Regions from separate parts of the Homo sapiens genome. Here all the other regions are linked to region 1. The links are contacts of gene promoters, found by promoter capture Hi-C in human tissues and cell types (Jung and others, 2019). All regions are on one chromosome and are shown on one strand. Each heading gives the region's core, a stretch centred on a gene start or on the middle of the fragment in contact. The rest is flanking DNA. Distances are from core to core; before and after follow the strand shown. Region 1 holds the start of DLGAP5 (DLG associated protein 5). Region 2 overlaps KTN1 (kinectin 1). Region 3 overlaps KTN1 (kinectin 1).

What was found. Contacts are between HindIII fragments. The study calls those that stand out against the background at their distance.
Region 2: a contact is called between a fragment that was not itself captured here and the fragment with the promoter of DLGAP5 in region 1, in 1 of the 25 tissues and cell types used here (psoas muscle).
Region 3: a fragment that was not itself captured here is called in contact with the fragment with the promoter of DLGAP5 in region 1 in 1 of the 25 tissues and cell types used here (lymphoblastoid cells).

What each region holds. Positions count from the first base shown.
Region 1 is chr14:55,189,878-55,193,203 of GRCh38, reverse strand. DLGAP5 (DLG associated protein 5) reads left to right here and starts at 1,619. Exons shown (of 19, transcript NM_014750.5): 1 at 1,619-1,741. LOC105370508 (a long non-coding RNA gene) reads right to left here and starts at 1,531. Exons shown (of 2, transcript XR_943888.3): 1 at 1,402-1,531. RefSeq lists enhancers at 1,323-1,875, 1,876-2,429. The HindIII fragment of the contact is 18,393 bases long and covers 1-3,326 here.
Region 2 is chr14:55,675,637-55,678,962 of GRCh38, reverse strand. KTN1 (kinectin 1) reads right to left here. Exons shown (of 44, transcript NM_001079521.2): 41 at 3,045-3,128; 42 at 519-611. Among named protein-coding and RNA genes, the nearest start is that of KTN1, 97 kb to the right of the region's middle. The HindIII fragment of the contact is 3,550 bases long and covers 1-3,326 here.
Region 3 is chr14:55,657,009-55,660,334 of GRCh38, reverse strand. It overlaps KTN1 (kinectin 1), which reads right to left. Exons shown (of 44, transcript NM_001079521.2): 30 at 1,721-1,789; 31 at 632-669. Among named protein-coding and RNA genes, the nearest start is that of KTN1, 78 kb to the right of the region's middle. The HindIII fragment of the contact is 3,805 bases long and covers 1-3,326 here.

The DNA.
Region 1 (3,326 bases), core at 370-2,869:
GAGTAGCTGGGACTACAGGCGCGCACCACCACACCCGGCTAATTTTTGTATTTTTAGCAGAGACGGCATTTCACCATATTGGCCAGGGTGATCTTGATCTCTTGACCTCGTGATCCCCCCGCCTTGACCTCCCAAAGTGCTGGGATTACAAGCGCAAGCCACAGTGCCTGGCCAGAAGGGTGAACATTAGAGACTGACAACCCCACGTGCTGGAAAGCATGTGAAACAAGTGGAACTCTTATATGTGGCTGGTGGGAATTGTAAAATGGTACAACCACTTTGGAAAACTGCTTGGCAATTCCTTACAAAGTTAGACATGGGTGACGGCACCCGCCTATAGTCCCAGCTATTCAAGAGGCCAAGGCTGCAATGAGCTATGATTGTGCCACTGCTCTCTAGCCTGGGGGACGGAGAGACCCTGCTTCTAAAAAAAAAAAAAAATTTTAAGTTAAACATACCCAGAATGACCCAGAAATTCCACTCCTGTATTTCCTCAAGATAAATAAAATATGCCCACAAGGACTTGTACGAGAATGGTTATAGCAACTTTGCTCATCATCACCAAAAATTGAAAGCAATACAAATCCATCAACTGGTGAATGCATAAAGTATTCAATGGAATGCCTCTCAATAACAAACACTACTAACTTCTGGTTCACGCAGACCCAAAAGAGTACCTATCACCTTCATTTTTATAGTGCTAGAAATAAGAGGAGTGGTTGCTGATGTGGTGGGAGATGGACAGGAAAGAAACAGGCCACTCTTCTGAGTGATGGAAATGCTCTACGTCCTGATTGGGTGGTAGTTACACAGCTGTTTACATTTACCAAACTCATCAAATTGTCCACTGGGGGGGAAAAACTATTATTTTCACTGTATACGAAAACTTCGCCTCAACAAAAAATGAACTAAAAAAGAAAAAAAAGGGGAGGGGGGCTGGCGACGTTGAAAAGTAACGCTAAACTATGTAAGGATTTGATAATTGGGGTAAGCCTTTTCTTTAAAACGTCTAGTAAAGAAAACATTCCAAGAAGGTCTGCTAGATTCTGTGACTAAACAAGGACATTAAAAAGCCCTGAATCCAGCTTGGTCAACGTAGTGAGGCCCTGTCTCTACGGAATTTTTTTAAAGTTAGCCAGGCGTAGTGGTGCGCGCCTATAGTCCCAGCTACTCGGGAGGCTGAGGTGGGAGGATGGTTTGAACACAGCAGCTCAAGGCTGCAGTGAGCAGTGGTCGGTGCCCACTATACTCCAGCCTAAGGGACAGAGACCTTGTCTCAAAAAAAAGAAAAAAGAAAAAAAAAAAAAGCCTTGCGAGCTCTGGGGGAGATTTCCCGCAGCCCAGCTTTGCCAGGGACCCAGCCTCACCCCTCGGGCTCCACCGCCCACTCCCGCCCTTCACCTGACGTGAGCGCCCCGACTGCTCCACTCCTTCTCATCCCGCGTCGCGGTCCCGCCTATTTTCCCTCTCTCACCCATCTTTTGAACTGGCCCTTCACCTTTCAATCAATTCAAATATCGCACGGAGCAAACCAATCGCAAGCCTCGTTGAGTGGAAGGGGTGGGATCTTCCCCGGAAGTGTTGGTTAAAGCCCCTCCAATCAGCGGCTCGGTGCGGCAAGTTTGAATTTCGTGGAGGCTCGGGTTGTGAGGGTTCCTGCTTCGGAGTCGGCGGTGGTCGTCCAGACCGAGTGTTCTTTACTTTTTGTTTGGTTGAGGTTTCACGCTAGAAGGTGGCTCAGGTAGGTGGGTGCTGGAGAGCTGGACGGAGAACACTGGCCCGCTTCCGTTGAAGGTCTAGAAGGGTCTGAGGACCGGGGGCTGCGAGCGGGAGCAAGTCAGAGGCAGGCTCCTTTAGGACCGTGTTACCTGCCCTTCCCGAAGCTGATAATGCGAGCCTTTAGAAGAGTCCATATGTTTGCCCTGACCTCTGTAATAGTCAGCGTTTCACCACCGGGGCGTAATTGACCTTTGGGGTGAAACTGTTCTTCACTAGCTCCGACATTAAATTCCCGTAGCTCTTCCCAGGTCCCATGGCAACTAAAAACGCCCGGTTGAGAACCTCTAGTCAAGCAAGATTAACGCATTCTGGACTTTCAAGCTGGAGGAAACGCCACTCAGCCAAACAAAATTTAGGTGTGTGTGGAGCCAGGGCTGCCTTGCTTGGGATCCCAGCTTCACCACCTTTTAGATATGCTAATGTGAGCAGTTAATTGACCTCATCTGTATGAGAGCGATAATAGTTAACTACCTTTCAGGGTTATTCTGATAATTGTACCTTTAATGTTGTCCTCGCTCGCTCTTTCTCTTGCTGTGGATAGTGCTATCCTGTATTTAATACATAAGTCTTAATTTTTCTTCAATCTTTAGCGAATTAATATTGCAGGAGATAAATAGTAGAAGACAGTTCTTTATGAAAAGCACAGTCCATTGTCACTTTCCTTGGGTCTTAGAGGAGAATGTTATTAGCATGCAGGTCAGACAGATTCTCGTTTTTTATATTTTGTTGATTGCTTAGAATCATGTAACAATGTATTGCATTACTTGTGCCAATTTTTCTATTATCTGGAGTTTTCTAGTGGATTTAGTTAATTCTTGTTGAAGAATATACCATAGTGTGTCTATCACAGAGCCTCCCCCTTACCTTTTTTTGTTTTTGTTTTTTAACTGCCAAGACTTCTGAGAATCAGTATCCTTTCTCCAGTTTGGCTTGGTAGTTCTCTATACCAGCTACACAGGTGACCCCCTCAAACTTTCTAATTTTCTTTGTTCTCCCTAGTTGGATCTACTGACGTCGTCTTTATTGTCCTCTTTTGTTTTGCTTGAATACATTCTCAAAGATCTTTCCAAGAAAAAGGCATGTGCCAATTAAACTATATGATTTTGTGCGTGTGTGTGTGTGTGTGTGTGTGTGTATGGCTTTTCTTTTTTAAAATTTATAGAGACGGGGTCGTGTTATGTTGCCCAGGCTGGTCTCAAACTCCTGGGCTCAAGCAGTCCTGCCTCGACCTCCCAAAGTGGTAGGATTACAGGCCTAAGCCACCGTGCCGGCCTAAACTGTATGATTTCTTGTATGGATGAAAATAATGGAGCAAACTGATAGGGTTATTGTGAACTATATATTTGGTCTTGTTCTGTTTTCTGGCAAACAACTACTAAAATCCTTGGAGTCTTCAAAGTGGTACCTTTTTGTATGCTAATGATTGACTGATAGCTGGATGCCTCTAAATAGCTTCAGGATTGGGGCTGGTCACTAGACAGACCAAGGCAGGATTTCTCGAGAGTTGGCATTTTCAGCCCCACCTCACAACCTCTGGGGAGGGGAGA
Region 2 (3,326 bases), core at 494-2,993, 490 kb before region 1:
GCAATACCCAACCGTTTTGGCACCAGGGACCAGTTTTGTGGAAGACAATTTTTCCACAGATGGGTGAGTGCGGGGATGGTTTCAGGATGAAACTGTTCCACCTCAGATCATCAGGCATTAGATTCTCATAAGGAGCATGCAGTTCACAATAGGGTTTGCACTCCTATGAGAATCTAATGCTGCCACTGATCTGACAGGAGGCAGAGCTCAGGCGGCAATGGTCATTCACCCACCACTCATCTCCTGCTGTGTGGCCTGGTTCCTAAAAAGCCATTGACTGGTACCTGTCCACAGTCCAGGAATTGGGGACCCCCGCTCCATACCTCTCAACACAACCCTTAAAATTAACATACCTCAATAAGCAAAAATGAGATCAAACATCAATGAAAACACTACATTTTAGGGACAGGATATTTTCAAGAAAGATGACTTTCGGAGATGGACCTTATACATTTTTGTTCTTTACACAGGTCACAAGGTAACTAGCTCAGAGATCTGGGGATGAAGAAAATACATACCGTTTCTGGGGAAACATCACTATTTTCAATAACAGTAGTGTCTCCAGCAGCTTTTACTATTTTTGACTGGATAAGCTCCAGTGACTGTTGAGCCTATAAGGAAAACAATATGGTAGCTACTAAGTAATACAGTTGATAAATACATAAAAAATGAATAATTTTATTCATTTTGTAGAAGATAAAAGCTCCTCTCAAAAGACGACACAGGTTTTTCCCTCCAAAATGAAAATAGCTTCACCCCCCACCAGATTATAAGAACATATGTTCACTGTTTTTAAAAGCTTAAGTAATGCAGAAACTATACAAAGAAATTTAAAAACAGAAATAACCATAGTTGATATTTAGGTTAGTATTAGTCTAGATTACAGGTTAGTCAAATCTGGCCCAAAGCCTGTTTTTGTACAGAATACAAGCTAAGAATATTTTTTACTTTTTAAAGGGCCATGTTGCTGGGCGCGGTGGCTCACGCCTGTAATCCTAGCACTTTGGGAGGCCAAGGCGGGCGGATCACCTGAGGTCGGGAGTTCGAGACCAGCCTGACCAACATGGAGAAACCCCATCTCTACTAAAAATACAAAATTAGCCAGGTGTGGTGGCACATGCCTGTAATCCCAGCTACTAGGGAGGCTGAGGAAGGAGAATCAACTGAACCTGGGAGGCGGAGGTTGCAGTGAGCCAAGATGGTGCCATTGCACTCCAGCCTGGGCAATAAGAGCAAAACTCCATCTCAAAAAATATATAATAAAATAAAGGGTTATGTTAAAAAGGAGACAAAAATATTCTAAAGAGATCATATGTGACCCACAAACCCTAAAAAAGCTTTGGGATTTGTCCACCCCTAGTTTAGATCCCTCTCTACATATTATGTGCTTATAGAAAATATTACATAAGTGAGCTTTAACATACATACTGCTTTATACTTACCTATTTTACAAAGTATGTTATTAACTTTTTTTTTTTTTTTTTTTTTTAGACAGTCTTTCTCTGTCACCCAGGCTAGAGTGCAGTAGCGTAATCTCGGCTCACTGCAACCTCTGCCTCCCGGATTCAAGCAATTCTTCTGCCTCAGCCTCCTGAGTAGCTGAGACTGCAGGTGCGCACCACCACACCCGGCTAATTTTTGTATTTTTAGTAGAGACGGGGGTTTCACCATGTTGGCCAGGCTGGTCTTGAACTCCTGACCTCAGGTGATCCGCCCACCTTGGCCTCCCAAAGTACTGGGATTACAGGCGTGAGCCACCATGCCCAGCCGTTATAAACTTTTTTTAGTCAAATATTTATGTGCTTTTCCAATCAAATGTTGCACAATATTTCTACTGTATAGGTATGGGGCAGTTAACTGTCACCTATCATTGCCATCTTAGCTACTGTAAATAAGATGGTATATCTATTATATAACTTTGAGCACCAGTTTGGTATTTTTAAAGTACTTTCTAAGAAACTACATTGCTAGGCTAAATTCCATGTTTATATTTTGATCCAGAGGTCAAAAATTAAAATCACGTATCAAAGTAAACTGACTGCTCAACCACAACAGTGTATTAAGCATCAAAGTTTGTCCTCTAAAACAGACCCAAATTCACATTCTGTCTACACTAAAATAACCTGACAACACTTGTGGATTCCTAGACTTTTACATAACAATTATAAACTATAAGCATATAGAATCAAAAAAAAATTTCTTTCAACTCTTTAAAAGGAGTATTATTTTTTAAAATGAGATAACTTTTAAAATCTATTAGAATATCAAATATTTAAATGTTAGACAGTATCTAATATTGGTGAGGGTATAGGGAAATACATGTTCTCATACCATGTTGAGAGGAGTATAAATTACTACTGTTGGGTTTCTGGGATTCCATTTTATACTATCAAAATTTAAGTGCGTACCTCTTGTTCTTGCAATTCCAAAAAGTGACACTTGTTTTGCTAATGATGATATATCCATAAACACTATCATAGCTCTAAAACAGCTTTGATATAAGAATATGTGAATTCTACTATTAAAAATAGATCTCAAAACAGAATTACAAATAACCTGTCAAACCAATGCAAAGAAATGCAGTCCTAAAAATCATTCATTTGCATTGAGATTAGGAAAAATATATTTGTATGAAGAAATAAATGAAGGAAAAACATCTAAAAAAAATAGAAATTTATATCTTTGTTTTATCCAAAAGACCAAGAGAAACATACTTTGTAAATGAATACACAGCCAAATCCCAATTTTAAAAAATATATGGATGCAGCCAAATTTTAATAACTCCAACTAAATTTTACTCTGTACTTTATAAAGCAATTAATTATAGAAATGTGAGGAAATAATGAGGTGAATTAAGAATCCTGGAAAAACAAGCCAAAACGTTTCATTCCAAAATACTAACTAATAACAAGCAGCTTAAATTTATAAAAGGTTAATATTATGATGCAAAACAACAAATCCAGAATTAGCAGCATAAGTTTGCTTAAGATTGAACACACAACACAGGCTCATGATACTACATCTCTAGGACGAACAGTGCCTACCTTATGCAAATCACCAGCTACCTTCTGTCTTTCATTTTGTTCAGTTCTAAGTTTTGTGAGTGTTTCATTTAACTGTGCCTTCAACTGTAAAAATAAAGGAACACCACAATTAACTTAATTTGCATCATTCTTTGATTATGCTGATACCTCTAGGACTGAAGAATGAATGGGACTGCTAACAGTTATTATGTACAGTGGATTAGCCAATATGCTGCACCAGATGTATAGAAAGGCTAAGCAGTAGAGGTTCCCATCTGTAAAGCTAAACATAAGAAAAGCCAC
Region 3 (3,326 bases), core at 368-2,867, 470 kb before region 1:
GCCAGGCTGGAGTGCAATGGTGCGAACTTCCTGGGCTAAAAAGATCCTCCCACTTCAGCCTCCCGAGTAGCTGGGACCACAGGTGCATGCCATCACACCCGGAATTTCTAAACTTTTCGTAGAGACGAGGTCTGACTATGTTGCCCAGGCTGATCTCAAACCCCTGAGCTCAGTGATCCTCCCGTCTCAGTCTCCCCAGCTGCTGGGATTACAGGCGTGAGCTACCACATCTATCCTAAAATTTCTTTAAAAAATGAAGCTAAGACAAAATTTGCATCATTCAATTACACAATCACATCTAGAAGAAAGAAGACCCAGTAAGATAACTGACATAATAGAAGGTGATTTAGAAAACCCTGCAAAGTATAGTTTAACTTGATTTGATGTTTTCTGAATGCCTAAAAAAACAAAAACAAACATCTCCCTCAACAAAATATTCAAATCCAAATACCATAAAAAAAGCATCTTAGCCAAAGGTACTACTCAACTCTAAACTGCAATTCAAGATATCCAAATAGAACTGTAAAAATCAGGTGCCATTTGCAGTTACACTAAATTGCTTATTTGAGAATGGTTTACCACATAAAAATAGTTACGACTTTATAAACTGTGACTCAAACTTATTACTTACACTTTTAATAATTCTTCATGAGGGGGAAAAGAAGATGCCTATCAAAAGAGTTAAATGTTATTTCAGAACAAAACTTTTCAGGAGACTTAAAAACATTGAAGCTTTTCTCAAATATAAATTAAGAAAACAACAAAAGTAAAAATAGTATATATTTCATATGCCAGTAACCCTGACTTTAATCAAGTGATTTTAATAAAAACATGTACAAATCTGTAAAATGTATGGAATGCTAAATCCAATCTCTACTGTCGCAACGTACTTGAACTCTTCATTTAATAAGTATTTATCAATTTCCCACTATGTGCATGGAAGCACACCTTACATTTTCAAACTGCACAATTCAAATTTGACTACATAAAACTGTTAAGCTTCCAAGTTAAAAAAAAAAAAAAAAAACAGAAATCAAAAGCAAAACTAGGACAAGTTATGTTTCCTCACGTTTAACAAAGTTATTTATACATCAACATGCAAAGGTACACAGCCCTTCATATATGGTATTTATTCCTTGGTGACAATAATCTCTCAAGCTTCTTGTTTGCAAGGACTCCAATTCATTTGTTTCTCAAAATACTATCAAGTCTATCCATATACATGCATAAATTAATTTACAGGCTATTTTGGGTAGCATCTTTTATAAAAACACACTTTTGATTTACCAAGCAGAATTATAACTTGAAAACCTCTTTTAAATAGTAGTAGACTATTGCTTATGATACATTTGTTAGTTTCTCTCCAGTTACTAATGTTTCATTTGGGAAGAGGGGAGATAAGAGTGTGTACACATATCTTTAACCCAACCTCTACAGTATTTAAACTGACTTGCTAAGAATTCTAGGATCAGAAAACACACATGAATACAAAACAGAGCTGGAATACCGGCAATAATATTATTTGTGTATACTTTATAGATTTGTTTTACTTTGGATATGACATAGCAAGTTGCTTTCTTTTATATAAAATTTGATAAACATAAATAAAACATACTTCATTCTCAATGAAAATGCAGAAATGGCAAAAATACTCATATGTCACTGGTTATATAATTTTTTTGCCACGTAAGTGAAAGGCAAGACATCTAATAATACCTACCTGTTGGTAGTTTTGTTGTTTAAGCTGCTCAATTTGGGACTTAAACAATTTGTTTTCATCTTGTACATCCTAATTAAATAAAAATTAAACATCAGTATCTAAACAGATTTTTTCCACATAAACTTAGATCATACAAGCTAGAAACAGATCATACAAGCTAGAAAAATTCCAAAATAGCAATAATTTTAAAGGGTGTAATAAGCTCTTTATTAAAACATATGATGAAATTAGAGTATTTATATTAGTACTAGCTGCGGAGTTTGCATGTCTCAATGGAACAAAATAGAATCCAGAAATATACCGAAATAGCTCTAAGAATTTAGTATGAAGTGACATTTCAAATCAACCTCAACTCTAGTAACATTTTGGGTTTCATATTTTTCTTTGTTGTGGGGGTTTTATCCTATGCACTGCTGGACATTTAGAAGCATCCATGGCACCCATCCACTAGATGCCCCAGCCCGCCTGCCCCAGCTGTGACAACCAAAAATGTCTTCAGATATTGACAAATGTCCCCCTGGGGAACGGAATTACTACTGTTATGATGGATTATTTAATAATGTGGCTAGCCTTCTCTTTTTAATGGTTACAATGTTATTGTTACAGCTTACTGAAATAAGTTACACTAAATAAGCTAAACAAACAAACAAACAAAAAGAATTATAAACACATTAGAAGAAAATGTAATTTTTTTTTTTTAAAGATGGCAGTCTTGCTGTGTTACCCAGGCTGGAGTGCAGTGGTGTGATCTTAACTCACTGCAGCCTCTGCCTCCCGGGTTCAAGTGATTCTCCTGTCTCAGCTTCCCGAGTATCTGGGACTACAGGCACCTGCCACCATGCCCGGCTAATTTTTGTATTTTTTTAGTAGAGTCGGGGTTTCACCACGTTGGCCATGTTTGGTCTCGAACCCCTGACCTCAAGAGATCCACCTGTCTCAGCCTCCCAAAGTGCTGGGATTACTACTGTGAACTACCACACCCAGCCGAATACATTTTTATGATCGTAGAGAGATACCTTTCTTCCAGAGACTTAAAACTCTAGAAATTACTTATATTTGAGTACATAAAAGTTTCAAATTTCCCAAAAAGGGGAAAAACACAAATGAAGTCAGAAGAAAAAATGGGGAAAATAAATCACCTCATATAATAACAAAAGGTTATTTAATTTCCCTTATTACATAAAAAGGATCTTACAAATTAGTAAAAAAAAAAAAAACGTCAACTCAGTGGAAAAAGTGTGGGAAAAATTAAAGGACAATTCATATAAAAATGGCTTGAACATACGAAAAATGCTTAACTTCTCTCGCAGTCAAATGCAAATTAAAAATAATCTTACCATCTTTCAAGTATAATATCAAAAATTTTTATCCTTGTCAATGTTGGAAAGGAAGAAGGTGAAATGGCCCTTAGTTGGTGAGAGTGTCAATTAGTGAAAACACTTTTGCAGGTCTATCTAGCATTGTCTAACAAAATTTAAAATGAACCTACATGAGAGGGAGAAGGAATGTGGTAGACTCAAACCTTGAAGCATGTAATGTGAGCAAGATTAATCCAAGACAATGTAGGCATCTACACATTTGCTATGACTTCAAATCAATCTTCTGT